Regions from separate parts of the Homo sapiens genome. Here all the other regions are linked to region 3. The links are contacts of gene promoters, found by promoter capture Hi-C in human tissues and cell types (Jung and others, 2019). All regions are on one chromosome and are shown on one strand. The core of a region is centred on a gene start or on the middle of the fragment in contact, and the rest is flanking DNA. Distances in the headings are between cores, read along the strand shown.

Region 1 (2,795 bases), core at 72-2,571, 440 kb after region 3:
ATACTGGGTATACAGAAACGATCCTAACTGCTTCTAGAAAAAAAAGAGCGGGGGGATCGCTCACACAGGCTTGAGAGTCAGGACAGCATTCGACTCGCACAGAAGCACTGGAAGCAGGTAAGTAAAGCACTGGTAACTTCAAAATGCAGGGCTAGTTTTTATCCTAGAACTTTATGCCCTCTCATATTTTCAGTCAAGTAGAAGAGGAACATTTTCATACAAGCAAGAACTCAAAATGTTTCCAAGAGCAAATCACGAAAAAGGAAGATACAGCATTTGACAAAAATGCACTCCAATACAGGAAAGTGACAAAGAGAACTCCCAAGGTGACAGCTGTCTGTCAGGTTTGGAGAGCTGCCAGTCCAGACTGCAGGAGAGGGCGGACGGCATTTGCTGTCCAGGAAACAAACAGCCTGGTGTTTGACAGATCCACTGCAGAAAATAGAAAGAAAAAAACCTCTGTAGGTTCAAAGAAAACAAAGCGCTTTTCCGCGCTACCTACAGAGGGGTCCATAGGGCGTTGTTCTGGATTCCGGTCGTAACTTAAAGGGAAACTTTCACAATGTCCGGAGCCCTTGATGTCCTGCAAATGAAGGAGGAGGATGTCCTTAAGTTCCTTGCAGCAGGAACCCACTTAGGTGGCACCAATCTTGACTTCCAGATGGAACAGTACATCTATAAAAGGAAAAGTGATGGCATCTATATCATAAATCTGAAGAAGACCTGGGAGAAGCTTCTGCTGGCAGCTCGTGCTATTGTTGCCATTGAAAACCCTGCTGATGTCAGTGTTATATCCTCCAGGAATACTGGCCAGAGGGCTGTGCTGAAGTTTGCTGCGGCCACTGGAGCCACTCCAATTGCTGGCCGCTTCACTCCTGGAACCTTCACTAACCAGATCCAGGCAGCCTTCCGGGAGCCACGGCTTCTTGTGGTTACTGACCCCAGGGCTGACCCACCAGCCTCTCACGGAGGCGTCTTATGTTAACCTACCTACCATTGCTCTGTGTAACAGATTCTCCTCTGCGCTATGTGGACATTGCCATCCCATGCAACAACAAGGGAGCTCGCTCAGTGGGTTTGATGTGGTGGATGCTGGCTCGGGAAGTTCTGCGCATGCGTGGCACCATTTCTCGTGAACACCCATGGGAGGTCATGACTGATCTCTACTTCTACAGAGATCCTGAAGAGATTGAAAAAGAAGAGCAGGCTGCTGCTGAAAAGGCGGTGACCAAGGAGGAATTTCAGGGTGAATGGACTGCTCCAGCTCCTGAGTTCACTGCTACTCAGCCTGAGGTTGCAGACTGGTCTGAAGGTGTGCAGGTGCCCTCTGTGCCTATTCAGCAGTTCCCTACTGAAGACTGGAGCGCTCAGCCTGCCACGGAAGACTGGTCTGCAGCTCCCACTGTTCAGGCCACTGAATGGGTAGGAGCAACCACTGACTGGTCTTAAGCTGTTCTTGCATAGGCTCTTAAGCAGCATGGAAAAATGGTTGATGGAAAATAAACATCAGTTTCTAAAAAAAAAAAAGAAAACAAAGCAAATGAAAGAAATAAGGGAGGCCGTGCGCAGTGGCTCACACCTGTAATCCCAGCACTTTGGGAGGCTGAGGCAGGTGGATTATCTGAGGTCAGGAGCTTGAGACCAGCCTGACAAACATGGAGAAACACTGTCTCTACTAAAAAATACAAAAAAATTAGCTAGGCGTGGTGGTGGGCGCCTGTAATCCAAGCTACTTGGGAGTCTGAGGCAGGAGGATCCCTTGAACCTGGGAATCGGAGGTTGTGGTGAGCTGAGATTGTGCCATTGCACTCCAGCCTGGGCAACAGAGCAAGACACACCATCTCAAAAAAAAAAAAAATATATAAGAAATAAGGTAAAAAGTCCAAGAGGAAACAAATTTTGTACAAATGAGAAACTATAATCACAATCTATGATTTGGCTCAAAGAGTACTTTAGCATAGTCAATAATATTTACACTGACAACTGACTTAACTAAAAATTGTGATAGAACTACATAGGGAAATGAACTTGGGGCAGGGAATATAAGAGAATGAACACAGGCTGGGCGCGGTGGCTCACGCCTGTAATCCCAGCACTTTGGGAGGCCGAGGCAGGCGGATCATGAGGTCAGAAGATCGAGACCATCCTGGCTAACACGGTGAAACCCCATCTCTACTAAAAATACAAAAAATTAGCCGGGCGTGGTGGTGGGTGCCTGTAGTCCCAGCTACTCGGGAGGCTGAGGCAGGAGAATGGCGCGAACCCGGGACGCGGAGCTTGCAGTGAGCCGGAGATCGTACCACTGCACTTCAGCCTGGGTGACAGAGCGAGACTCCGTCTCATTAAAAAAAAAAAAAAAAAAAAGAGAATGACCACAATATGAAGATAATATAAAATATTTAAAATAAGTAAATCAAGAAATATCAATAAATGCCTATAGTGAAGATGCCAGAAGAAATAACTCTGAAGAGATGAGAGTGTTTGTGTTTGCAGAGCAGGAAATGGCAAGGGATGCACAGAGACTACTTTTTTTTAGTAATCTAACTTGAAAAAACTGTATATTTATTATGTTTATAAAATTAAAAAAAAATTTAAACAAAAAAGACATACCAATCATCAAAACCATGGTTTTCAAACTTGTTTTGTTAGCGGAATGCTTTTTCCCCCCAGGAAAATCTATGTATTAATAGAATAAGAGCACAGCTCAACCCCAGCATCCCCCAAGTTCTTAGAAACCACCAACTCTGAAGATTAACCTATTCAGATTCCCTCTGCCCCCATTGTAGCTACTAAAT
Region 2 (3,026 bases), core at 283-2,782, 410 kb before region 3:
ACATTTATTTGTTTGCCAAGAATTAGGCAGTTCTACCTGAAACTCTCCTACTCTGCTGATGGGAGTGTAAAACGGTACAACCCCGTCTGGCAAACAGTTTACAGTTTACTTAAAAAGTTACATATGCACTTGCCATACAGCTCAATCACTGCACTCTTAGACCTGACAACATGCGTCTCCACAGTCTTGTAAAAATGCTCACGCTGGTCCAAATTGTGATGGCCAATGTTATGTGTCAACTCAACTGGGCCAAGGGGTGCCCAGACATTTGTTGGAACCTGATCCTGGGTGTGTGTGTGGGTGTCTCTGGATGAGATGAACATTTGGATCTGAGGTCAGGTGTGTGAAGCAGACGGCCTCCCTGACGTGACCCCACCCTGCCAGTCAGCTGAAGGCCTGAAGAGATCGAAGGCTGGCCTGGCCTTCCTGCCAGCAAGAGGAAATTCCTCCAGCCTGACTGCCTTCAAGCAGGGACAGTGGTTTTTTCCCTGATTTCAGATTCCAGCTGAAATATCAGGTCTTCCTGGGTTTGAAGCCTACCGGCCTTCGGACTAGAATGACAACATTGGCTCTCCTGGGTCTCCAGCCTCCATAATCACATGAGCCACTTCCTTAGAATAAATCTCCGTCTAGCCACCTACCCAGCTGCATCCTATTAATCCTGTTCTCTGGAGAGCCCTGAGTAATGTACTACCCAAAAGCTCGTGAGCAGGTGAATGTGCACACAATGGGACTCCCAGCAATGAAAAGGGACACAGGACTGCAGCCTGCGGCGGCAGAGATAAATCTTGGAAACATGAGTTGAGTGAAAAAGGCAGCCACAGAGGAGTCCATACAGTATAGTCCCACTTACATGAGGTTCCAAAAAGGTGATAGTGCCCAAAAGCAGGTCAGTGATTGCCTGGGCCTGACAGTGAAGGAGAATTGACAAGGAGCACAGGGAAACTTTCGGGGTGACAGAAATGTTCTTGATTTGATTGTGGTAATGACTACATACACATTTGGCATACAAATGTGGGAAAAGTAAAAAAAAAAAAAAAAAGAGAGAGAGAGAAGAAAAGAAAAAGAAAAACAAGAAGCCAAGCACAGGGGCTCACACCAAGTAATCCCAAAACTTGGGAGGCCAAGGTGGGAGGATCACTTAAAACCAGGAATTCAGGACACACGCCTGTAGTCCCAACTACTTGAGAGTTCCAGGCAGGAGGATTGTTTTTGCCCAGGAGGTCAAGGCTGCAGTGATCGTGCCGCTGCAATCCAGCCTGGGTGACAGAGAGAGACCTTGTCTCTTAAAAAAAAAAAAAAAAAATGGCCGTGTACGGTGGCTCACACCTGTAATCCCAGCACTTTGGGAGTCCATGGTGGGTGGATCGCTTGAGCTCAGGAGTTTGAGACAAGCTTGGGCAACATGGCAAACCTCATCTCTACCAAAAATACGAAAAATTAGCCGGGCACGGTGGCACGCACCTGTGGTATCAGCTACTCGGGAGGCTGAGGTGGGGGGATCCGTTGAGCCCGGGAGGTTGCAGTGAGCCATGGTAGCACCACTGCAGTCCAGCCTGGATGACAGAGTGAGACCCTGGCTCATAAATAAATAAATAAATAAAAAATAATTAAAAAAAAAACAGAATTCTCCAGCCCTGGCAAAGGACTAAACTTTTCTCTGATGCTCCAATCTGTGTCAGATGAAGTTTCAGCCAGAATCCAATGTTTCATTCATTCATTCATTCATGCATTTGATCACCATTAAGTGCCTACTGCATGGTAAGCCGTGGTCCAGGCAGATTCAGTCCCAGCCTACCTGGAGCACAGATGGGCATGGAGGTCTTCGCTAGGTCCCCTTTCCACCTGTAGGCAGTAAAGCCAACATTCCCCGTCCTCCCAATCCCCACCATTTATGGAAATGAGATCCTGCCATGTGAAGTGGCTGACTCTGAAAATAACATGGCAAGTCAGAAGAGGCACTGGTGTTAGAACTTGGGAAATTCTTGGTGGTTGTTGTTGTTGTTGTTGTTGTTTGTTTGTTTTTTGAGACAGAGTTTCGCTCTTGTTGCCCAGGCTGGAGTGCGATGGCGCGATCTCCGCTTACCACAACCTCTGCCTCCCAGGTTCAAGCGATTCTCCTTCCTCAGCCTCCCGAGTAGCTGGGATTACAGACACCTGCCACTACACCCAACTAATTTTTGTATTTTTAGTACAGACAGGGTTTTGCTGTGTTGGCCAGGCTGGTCTCGAACTCCTGACCTCAAGTGATCCGTCTGCCTTGGCCTCCCAAAGTGCTGGGATTACAGGTGTGAGCCACTGTGTCTGGCTAAACCTGAAACTATATCTTGTCTGTGCATTTTTGATTTGTATCATTTGTATTTTTTATAATTTGTGTTTGTATTTTATATAATTTGTATCACCATTTTGCATGTTTTCTGAGTACCAATCTCACCACACCGTCATGAAGTATGAAACTCTAGTTGACAGCTGAAGGAAGGGAAACACAGAACTTTTCAATGTCACGTCCAAGTCCACACACTGAGTAAGCGGAGAGCCAGGATGGAGGGGGCCCTTAAACATGAGGCGGCTCTGCCCCCACCTTCGCAGGTGTTGGGGCATTTGGTTCCCGTGACACCCCAGCAGGTGCGGTTATTATCCCTGTGCATTTTATGAGGAAAAAACAAAACCTGGAGACGTTAGATCACGTCCAAGAGCTCGAATTCAAATGTGGGGCTTTCAGGTCCGAAGCCCATGTTCCTGGACTCTACCGCACTGCATCTCAACTCTGATGATGGGAGCAGAAGAGTTGACAGAAAGCTAGGAACAGGAGAAGGGAAGGAAGAGGGAGAGACAGAGGCAGGGAGAGAGGACACAGGAGCAGCAAGGCCTCTACCTGCACAGCCCCTGGGCCCACCCTGGAGAAAACACTGTTCTTGGAAGACCTGAGCGGCTGGTGAGGGGGGACAATGGAATGCACATCTGTATTCTAAATCAGCCTAGAAAGCAGATCAGAGCATGAGAAAGGGCCCAACATCTGTATTACT
Region 3 (3,074 bases), core at 322-2,821:
TATGTGTGAGTGTATATATATACACACACACATAAACTCTGGTAACTATTAATAAAATGCAAGACAGAGGTAACTACCACCACTGGTACAAAGTGCACTTTTTTTTTTTCAGACGGAGTTTCGCTCTTATTGCCCAGACTGGAGTGCAATGGCACCATCTCGGCTCACCGCAACCTCCGCCTCCCGGGTTCAAAGGATTCTCCTGCCTCAGCCTCCCGAGTAGCTGGGACTACAGGCATGTGCCACTACGCCCGGCTAATTTTGTATTTTTAGTAGAGACGGAGTTTCTCCATATTGGTCAGGCTGGTCTCGAACTCCCGACCTCAGATGATCCGCCTGCCTCGGCCTCCCAACGTGCTGGGATTACAGGGGTGAGCCACCGCGCGCGGCCCAAAGTGCACTTTTTAATATGCCTTCACTATTCAACCACGGGCACTCATGGGCCAGAAAGAACAAAGGCACAGTTAACTCCACTGCTCTGGAGAAAAGAAAGCTGACAACAAGGAATCTGATGCCTTCCTTCAGTGGGAAGGAAACACCCTGACATTGGAAGTGGTCTCCACACCGGGTTGTACACTGATGGGGGGCGGAGTCGGGGGCAGGCCAACACCTCAACAGCAGTCACCAAAAAGGTGCTTTTAACTATCAATAGCAAGTATTAACATGTTTATAGATTGCTGCTAACAGCTGGCCAAAGAAAGGTACATACAAATGCCCCTTTTTAAAAAACAAAAATAGCAAGGATTGTAACCGTAGGGGTGGGGGGCGGGGTGGGGGAAGCACACACTAAAAATCAGTTTGGGCAGAATTTAAGCTGTTAAATGGACACACTTAGCAAACTCTCTGGGCTCCATCGGCCCCCACCTCCCCTCTGGAAACATCGCCTCGCCCAGGAATTAGGACTGCGTGTATGTTCGCCTAACACCTGCTGCGGCCTCCAGCGACATCGTCGCCGACAGGACTGCGCTGGCACCCTCCCTGCTGGGCTAGTCCTGTCTCCGTCACTAAACGCCTGTGACCTTAGGTAAACTGCTTAGTCTCAGTATTCTCATTCGTAAAATGGGGATGAGAACACAGTCGTCGCAGGATCGCAGCCAGAATTCGTTTCATTCAACACGGTGCCTGGCACTTCTATGTGGACCTGCGGGCAGACGCGGCGACATTCAACAGAGTCCAGGAACCGCAGGCCCCGCGGCCTGGGCGGTCAACCTCGGAACCTCCTGCAACGCTGGCTCCCGGGAAGCAGACCCAACTCCGCGGGGCGCCTCCACCTGCCAAGCCCCTCCAGCCGCGCCTCTCCCCGAGCCCGCCAGCGCCGTAGGGGCCGCAGGGCGCAGGGCTTCGGAGGACCGGAGGCCGGGGCGGGGACAGCGACCCGGCGCCCACCCCGAGGGCCCCACGCGAGGGCACCACGTCCCCGGCGTCTCCCCGGGCTCCAGGGGCAGCAGCGCGGCTCGGAGCCCTTTACCTGCCAACGATCACCACGCAGCCGGCCGCGGAGGACGCCATGGTTGGGCCGGGGACGCGGCGCCGCGGGCGCTGGGACCAGGCGCCGGCGGAGCTGCGAGCTCTGGGCTCCGGGGAGGGCGGGTCCCGCGCCCATTGGCTGCGCGCGCGGACCGGGAGGGCGGGGAGGGCCGCTTGGTCCCTGAGTGGGGTGCGCGCCGCGGGCCCGAGACACCGGGAGACACACGGCGCGCCGACCCTCGTGGGCAGGGGCAGGACCAGCGCGGGGGCACGTCGGGGGGTGGAAAGCGGGAAGACCACGCGCTTGTGACTGTCAGCATTCACCGTGAAGTCCGTGTCTATAGGAGGGGACACGGGCAGGCTGGCACGGGCTCTAGCGCTAAAGCACCCTAGAGAAACTGTCAGAGAATGTCCCCTTTGCTAATTCGTCTCTGAAAGACGCCTGCCGCTGCCGCCAACTGCGAACTGGGCGCAGGGACTGCGACAGCAGTGAAAGAGAACACCTGATGCGTTCATCTGCGCTACGGAAGGACACGTCTGAATTCCTCCACGGAGCACACTCTGCACTCGGTTTATGTATCAGAAAAAGGAAATGCCCTCGTGCCCTGACTCCTGGCCTTCTTGGAGCCCGGAACAGACCAAGAGGAAGGGGCATCACACATTGCCTGACAGTGGTGTGCGTCCACACAGCACAAGCTGAACGGGAAATGACACAGTCATTAGACAGAGGAGACAGTACTCAAGCTGGAACCGCAGCCAACACTGAGATGATAAAAGGAAGTCTTCCTTTGTTTCCCCTGAGTCAGGAACGTGGAAAGAGAAATCTCAGGGGAGGGGTTAGGTTTTTTTGTTTTGTTTTGTTTTTTAAAGAACAGTTTCACAAATTATCGATAAATATTTGTAAAGTATTCAACCTCAAGAGAAATGAAAAGTAACACAAGGAAGATAAGTCATCTCTCACTCATCAGATTGGCTAAGTCACATGGATTGATTATATTCCCATATCCGTAATGGAGTGTTTCGGACATGCAACTTACACACAGTAGAAGGCAAGCTTAAATGTTGAGGACTTTTTGGAGGGAATGTTACAGTACATTGTTGAGACAGCCGCTAGCCTGAGCAACCGCGCCTGCTCTGGCTGAGAATACAAGGCTCCAAAGCTTCCATCTTCTGATGGAGCAGTTTCTGTAGTCAGTTACACAGGCAGCCAATATAATAATCAAGGCACCCAGGGAGTGAGCATCCTGTGACTGCTCACTACCGGAGGCTATGGGGGCAGCAGACTGGCTTGTTTGCTGCTCCCTGCAAAGTCATGCCTGAAATCCCAGCGCTTTGGGAAGCTGAGTAGTAAATAATAGCTTGAGGCCAGGAGTTCAAGACCAGCCTGGGCAACAAAGCGAGACCCCTGTCTCTACCAAAAAATTAAAAAACTTATCCAGGCTGGTGCCGCCTGTAGTCTCAGCTACTCAGTAGGCTGAGGCAGGAGGATTGCTTGAAGCCAGGAGTTTGAGACCAGCCTGTGCGAGATAGTGAGAACCCCCCCCCCCGCATCTCTAGTGTGTGTGTATATATATGTGTGTGTGTGTGTGTGTGTGTGTGTGTTTATA
Region 4 (3,017 bases), core at 518-3,017, 300 kb before region 3:
CTCTCGGTTCTCTAGCCCGTGGCCTGCCTGAACAACGGCACCCCGTGGTCCCCTGTGGTCCAACCTTCTAGGAAGTAAACAGATCAGGGAGCCAGAGGGGGACATGGCCTGGATGATTCTGAGAGGCTAAAGTCACAGAAAAGGTCAAGAGGTCACAACTCCCCCCCAGGAACACTGGTCCACGCTTTCTAGAAGCAGGGTCCCTGACCTCTGCAGCTTTGGGCTTCTCCCTGTTTTTTTTTTCTAAAAACAGGGACAATTATAAGGGCAGTAGCTTTTTAAATTTCTTTGGATTTTTCTGGGTCCCCAAGCCACACGGTCTGAGGGTGTTCTATCAACATAGCAAAACTGAACAGAATATAATCTGTTTCACAATGCGCGCTTCTCGATACCGGTACTAAAAATTGGCAATCCACCTATGCCTTTAAAGGAAGAAAAGTAAAGGAGATGCCGAGCTTGCTGAGAAAAATGAGGTTAAATCCAATACAAGTGTGTCTAACTCCCCGGTCACTCAGGACAGTCTCCTGGTTCAGAGTGTCCTCCTGCAAGAGCCACAAAGGCCCTGTTATTCCTAACAGCAGAAGTGATCCAAGGGAGAAGCTGTGTCCTCTCTCCGAACCTGCCCGGTCCTGAGTGGGCTGCCCCTGGGTGCTCAGTGACCCTGAGCTGGTGTTTCCCAACTGAGACAGTGAGACAGTGGCTCTTTCCATTCTTTTCCAGGTTGTGTCACACCTGAGGGGCTCACCAACCAGCTCCGGGGATCTGCCGTGCGTATCATTCTCTGCAGGCCAACAGCCAGGGAGAAGAGAGCTCCCCTCGCAAGTGTCAAGAGATAGGCCAGGGTGATGGGTCAGCTGCGGGTTATCAAGCCCCCAAATTTCCAGCACATTGCTGCCATTACTGGCCAGGCCTGGCTGCCCCAGGAGACGCTCCCATTCAAGGAGCGGTGGGAGGATGGCAGTAAACGCAGGAGACTCAGCAAGTTTTAAGGAGGACTCAACTCCACTGACTGCTCCTGTCCTGACTTTGGTGGGTGGACAGGGTGGGTGGACAGACTGCAGAGGGGCCCAGAGGAAGGATGTTGTGGGTTGGGGGTGGCAAAGAAAGCGCCCAGCCCCCAGGTTCTCCCTTGTAAAAACACATAACCACAGGGCATAATCTTTCACAAACCCTCTTGGTTGGAGAAGATTTGAAGGCTATTTCAATTTGTGAAGTCGTCACTAATTTCAAATTACTTTCCAAAATCATCGCATCCACTGGGACCCTTTGCAACTGTAGTAAACAAAGTACCTCTTTCCTCTCCTGCTTCTGGAGGGCTGGAGCCAATGGGAGGAGCTTTTTCAATACAAAGTGAAATATTAACTCTTTCTTCGGAAACCAGAGAGGTTCATTTTAACTGATGCCTCTCTGGCTGTCTTTTAAGGAAAGAATAGATACGCTTAGCTTCTGCAGTCTTCAACTTCTAAGAATGTGATTACATTTAAACTTAAAAAGGTAAACTGTGTTCGGTTTTGTAGTAAATGTAATCATAGTGAAGAACTCGATGCTGTTTTTTCTTGTTTGTTTGTTTTTGTTTTTTGTTTTTGTTTTTTGTTTTTTTTGAGATGGAGTCTAGCTCTGTTGCCCAAGCTGGAGTACCGTGGCACGATCTCGGCTCACTGCAAGCTCCGCCTCCCGGGTTCACGCCGTTCTCCCGCCTCAGCCTCTCTGAGCAGCTGGGACTACAGGCGCCTGCCACCAAGCCCGGCTAATTTTTTGTATTTTTAGTAGAGACGGGGTTTCACCGTGTTAGCCAGGATGGTCTCGATCTCCTGACCTCATGATCCGCCCCCCTTGGCCTCCCAAAGTGCTGGGATTACAAGCATGAGCCACCGCGCCCGGCCCATGCTATATTCTTGATACTAAAGCTCCAGTCTGAAATATCTAGCTCTAAAAATAAGTAAACCATGGACTTTACTTTTGAGGATCCACACAGCATTGTGAAGATAGGTTGTTCTTTCCTTTTACAATTCAAATAATTTAGATCTATTGGCATTTGACTGCACTAATGAAATTTCTTGATTGTTTTAAAACTTCTTAGGAAATTAATCACAACTAGCTTATTTATCTATGCCATTATAATTTCACTAATGACAGAACCAAAACTAAAGCCCCCAAAGTTAGAGTGTAACCCCTCAGCATATTTTTCTAGATAGCTCTGTTCCCCTTTCAATGTCATTTAGCAAAAAAAAAAAAAAAAAAAAAAAAAAATTTTTTTTTTTTTTTTTAGACAGAGTCTTGCCCTGTTGCCCAGGGTGGAGTGCAATGGTGCAATCTCAGCTCACTGCAACATCTGCCTCCCCGGTTCTAGTGATTCTTGTGCTTCAGCCTCCTGAATAGCTGGGACTACAGGCATATGCCACCATACCTGGTTAATTTTTTTTTTTTTTTTTTTTTTTTTTTTTTTAGTAGTGACAGGGTTTTGCCACCTTGGTCAGGCTGGTCTTGAACTCCTGACCTCAGCCTCGGCCTCCCAAAGTGTTGGGATTACAGGCATGAGCCATCGCGCCTGGCCATCTAGGGAGTAGTTGATAGATCTGAGAACAGGAACATGTGCCTCCCAATTTCGAAGTTAGCTTTGGATAGTCGGGGAGTCTGCATAGATAAAAGGAAAACAATATCAAAGCAAAACAAGCAAACCTGAGTCCTGTTTCCAACGACTGCCAGTGTTTCAGACCCAAAGAATGAGGGCAAGATCCCTCTGCGAGGGTTTCAGACCTCCTTCTCCTACCCCACTGGAGTGCCTAGAAGCCAATGGTGCACAGTGATGATACGAATGTCAATCTTTGCTCGGTCAGTGAGGATGTCGCCTGTTGAGGGAAAAATAGTAGCTGTTGCCATATTCCTTTAACTCCCCCCCCCCCCGCCCCCCGCAATATGTCCCCTGAATAAACTTTGTGGGTAGTTTTTCTTCATTCCCAGAACTGTTATGAGGTAAGTTCAGAAATTGCCAGCTTCCTGATGCTCTATGCTTTGAA
Region 5 (3,093 bases), core at 594-3,093, 380 kb before region 3:
GTTTCAATGTCTTAAAGGACTAGTTGAGTAGAGAACAATTCCACACTGCCTGAGAGAGAAGGACCCAGCCTTTAGAATCATGGATACCTCAAAGAGCAAAAGGATGTGAAACATGCGTTCATTTCTTACATGAACTGAAATCAGTATGCTAACCTGAAAAAACACCACAGGCACTGTTCTATTGCAAAACCTCACTTCTTTATAGATTAGTGATTTTCAAGTAGGTGAATCTAATTCTACACTCCTATCCACTCTAAATGGACCCACTAGACTATGGTCAATGGTACAATACTGGCATTTCCATAAACATATTGTGACTAAATTCAATTTTAAAATGTAAAAACTAGATACAATTTGAGTTCTCATGCTCATCTCCAACCCCACTCAAAATCAAATTGTGGGTAAATAAGAAGCTTGTTACTGTTATGAACATTTATTATGGTAGAACTTAAAGAACCAAGTATTGACATCCACTTGTACTTGAGCTGTACTTGTGCTCTTGGATGATTGCTATTGCATTTTCTAAAATGGCCAAAGCTTTTTATCGGAATGCTTCTCACACTAGGATCTTCTAGCAGCCCTTATCACTCACAAGAACTAAGTCCTGCTGCCCTAGGCCTATGGCATACACTGCATGTAATGAGTGAACTTCGGAGAGAAGTTATGCATCTAGAATGGCTGTAGTTATGCACCAGCCTGGAGAGGAGTGAGAAAGTCACTCACAGTTTTCCAAAGGGCTAATTTCTCTCTTGTCAATCTGGTTGAGAAAGTCTCTGAGGAGACGTATGGAAAAGTTAGCATTTTTCAAGCCTAGGAGCCTGTCCAGTGCATCCTACAGCAAGCAGAATGTACTAACAAATTCTTTGTGTTTGACTGACATGAAAAACTAGTTGCATGCAAGAATCTGAGACTTGGAAATTGCATTCCTTTCATCAGATTGTTAGTGGAGCACCCTTTATGATAGAAAACAGAAAGTATGTTTGGAGTGTGGTCCCAAATGCATCATCGAGAAGTTAATTTATAAAAAGAAATGTATTACATTGGTCTCGCTGAACAAGGGCTAATGATACTCAGTAGAAGTTGGAGGTGAAAAGTGTGAGTAGAAACAGGCTCAACATGACCATCGTTCATTTTATAAACAAATGGTGACCAAGATACTACAGCTGTGTGTGCAGGACAGAAAATTCTGCCGTCTTCCAGCCATGCCCACACACATAAATAGCCTTCCCTGTCAGGACAGCTCTGGTGTGGAGGCAGAATGGGGCATACAGCCTGCATGAGCACGCGCCCTCCCCCAGGCAGGGATCCCCAGACACTTATATTATTTACACTGGAGAAAGCAAACAGGCTGCCCACAAAGAATGATTAGGAAGCTTGAAGTGTTTTATTCTGTACTTTTTAAAAGTGTAGATTGTCATAGATTCATCTGTATAAATAATTTTCCTGGCAACAGTAGTTCACTTTTCACTTCCCATTCAAAATCTTCAGAACTTCTATTTGAATGCACTTAAAACTTTCCCCTGCTTTTGTTTTATATAATACATTCTCATTATAATTAGGTGACTCATGAAATTAAAGAATTTCTTTTACAAGAAAGTTCAAAATCTTTAGTAAAGATGCTAGTAGCATGCATTAGGGCAAATTAGCACTGTCTTGGTCAGCAATCATTCTAACAGTATTTAAAGAAAGAAAAACACTATTTTTCTTTCATTTTTCCTGAAAGAAAGTGGGAGAAAATAGGCATAGCTGCACCATTCAAAGCACAAAATAATCATTTAGAAAATAAATACCTACGGCATACCCGACACACTTTTATGTCAATTTCCTCAACTGTTTAAAAATGGCCTCAGGCGTGGCTGCGTTTCCACCTGCCTTCTGCCAGCAACCTCTGGGGCCCTTGCCCACTGAGCCTGCCTCTGGAGGGCAACTGCTCTTTGTCACTTGTCATGAGGCCTGAAGCTTGATATCCTGGGCTTCACATGCAATTTCGGAAACTCAAATGACACTACATAGACTTGCTGTAAATCTTTTTTTAGTGCAGTTTGGCAAATATCCCAAATGAAATTCAACTCTAAGTTAAAAGTATCAAAGAGATAGAGCTAAGTGCTCTGGCCCAGAGCTAAGACCCTCTGGGCCGCCCAGAGGCTCTGGAGAGCTTAGGAATAGCAAACCCAATTGCCCAGGAGCTAAAGGGACTGCAGGATACCTGTTGCTTTACCACTACAGAACAGTTACCCCCAGAGACAGCCCTCAGCGACCAGATTTCTGGGCTGCTGTGAAGATCTTAAAGGCCCACAACCCTTGTCCCCGCCACCCCCAAACTCAGAAAGTGGGAGTTATCCCCACTGTAACTCACAGTGCTAAGAACAGCAAGCATTGAACACGGAAACCTGATCTCTCCTCCATCGTCCACCTCCTGGGACTCCAGTCGCTCCCACCTCCTGGGACTTTCAGGTTCTATCTGCTGGTGGGAAGTGCACTTTGGTTTTGGTTTCTAAGAAAAAGATCACTACACAGCTGTCTGGAGGCAGGCACCCGGGCACTAGATGGCCAAGTCCTCCGGTCTGGCCCGCCCGCTGCTGGCCCTGCTGGCCTTGCTGGCCCGACCTGGGTCTCCGAGGGGCAAGGGCGGCTGGTGCATCTGGGCCGCGGTGGTCACGGCCTGCTCCTCCTCCTCGGGGGTCCCTGCCAGGGCGCTCCCCTCCAGACTGCTGCCGCTCCCATCCAGCAGCAGGGGCGCCGCGCCCGCCTCAGCCTCGTGCGCGAGTGGCGGGGAGCTGCTGCCGACGGGGCTGGGGGCTGCAGGCGTGGACGCTGCCGGGTAAGCCTTGAGCGCCGGGGGCTGCCGCTCGGCCGCCTGGTTGGCCCAGTTCTGCTCAGTCATCAGCAGGTGGTGGTGGCCGTTGTAGAGCTTGGCGGACTGGCCCTTTCCGCGCGCCTCGGTCAGGGCTAGCAGTTTGAAGTCCGCGGCTGGTGGCGGGGCCCCGGGGTAGCCCACGGCGCGGGCCTGTCCCAGGGGCGCAGCGGTGTGCGCATAGTAGGGTGGGAACCCGATGGCAACGGCGGGCGGCCGGGAGCTGGGGGGCAGGGGCG

Evidence for each region. Contacts are between HindIII fragments. The study calls those that stand out against the background at their distance.
Region 1: a fragment that was not itself captured here is called in contact with the fragment with the promoter of CRYL1 in region 3 in 2 of the 25 tissues and cell types used here (heart right ventricle and spleen).
Region 2: a contact is called between a fragment that was not itself captured here and the fragment with the promoter of CRYL1 in region 3, in 1 of the 25 tissues and cell types used here (mesenchymal stem cells).
Region 4: a fragment that was not itself captured here is called in contact with the fragment with the promoter of CRYL1 in region 3 in 1 of the 25 tissues and cell types used here (mesenchymal stem cells).
Region 5: a fragment that was not itself captured here is called in contact with the fragment with the promoter of CRYL1 in region 3 in 2 of the 25 tissues and cell types used here (heart left ventricle and thymus).

Annotation. Positions count from the first base shown.
Region 1 is chr13:20,960,750-20,963,544 of GRCh38, forward strand. It overlaps the pseudogene RPSAP54. Among named protein-coding and RNA genes, the nearest start is that of LINC00367, 13 kb to the left of the region's middle. The HindIII fragment of the contact is 5,622 bases long and covers 1-2,795 here.
Region 2 is chr13:20,110,473-20,113,498 of GRCh38, forward strand. The region is part of intron 1 of LOC105370101 (a long non-coding RNA gene); the gene reads right to left. Among named protein-coding and RNA genes, the nearest start is that of LINC01072, 9.3 kb to the left of the region's middle. The HindIII fragment of the contact is 5,033 bases long and covers 1-3,026 here.
Region 3 is chr13:20,524,286-20,527,359 of GRCh38, forward strand. It overlaps CRYL1 (crystallin lambda 1), which reads right to left and starts at 1,572. Exons shown (of 8, transcript NM_015974.3): 1 at 1,469-1,572. The coding sequence starts at 1,509. RefSeq lists a silencer at 1,248-1,797 and an enhancer at 1,978-2,087. The HindIII fragment of the contact is 16,444 bases long and covers 1-3,074 here.
Region 4 is chr13:20,226,901-20,229,917 of GRCh38, forward strand. GJB6 (gap junction protein beta 6) reads right to left here. Exons shown (of 5, transcript NM_001110219.3): 4 at 2,680-2,849. Among named protein-coding and RNA genes, the nearest start is that of GJB6, 3.9 kb to the right of the region's middle. The HindIII fragment of the contact is 5,423 bases long and covers 1-3,017 here.
Region 5 is chr13:20,139,439-20,142,531 of GRCh38, forward strand. GJA3 (gap junction protein alpha 3) reads right to left here. Exons shown (of 2, transcript NM_021954.4): 2 at 1-3,093. The coding sequence ends at 2,543. Among named protein-coding and RNA genes, the nearest start is that of GJA3, 20 kb to the right of the region's middle. RefSeq lists an enhancer at 2,122-2,623. The HindIII fragment of the contact is 4,756 bases long and covers 1-3,093 here.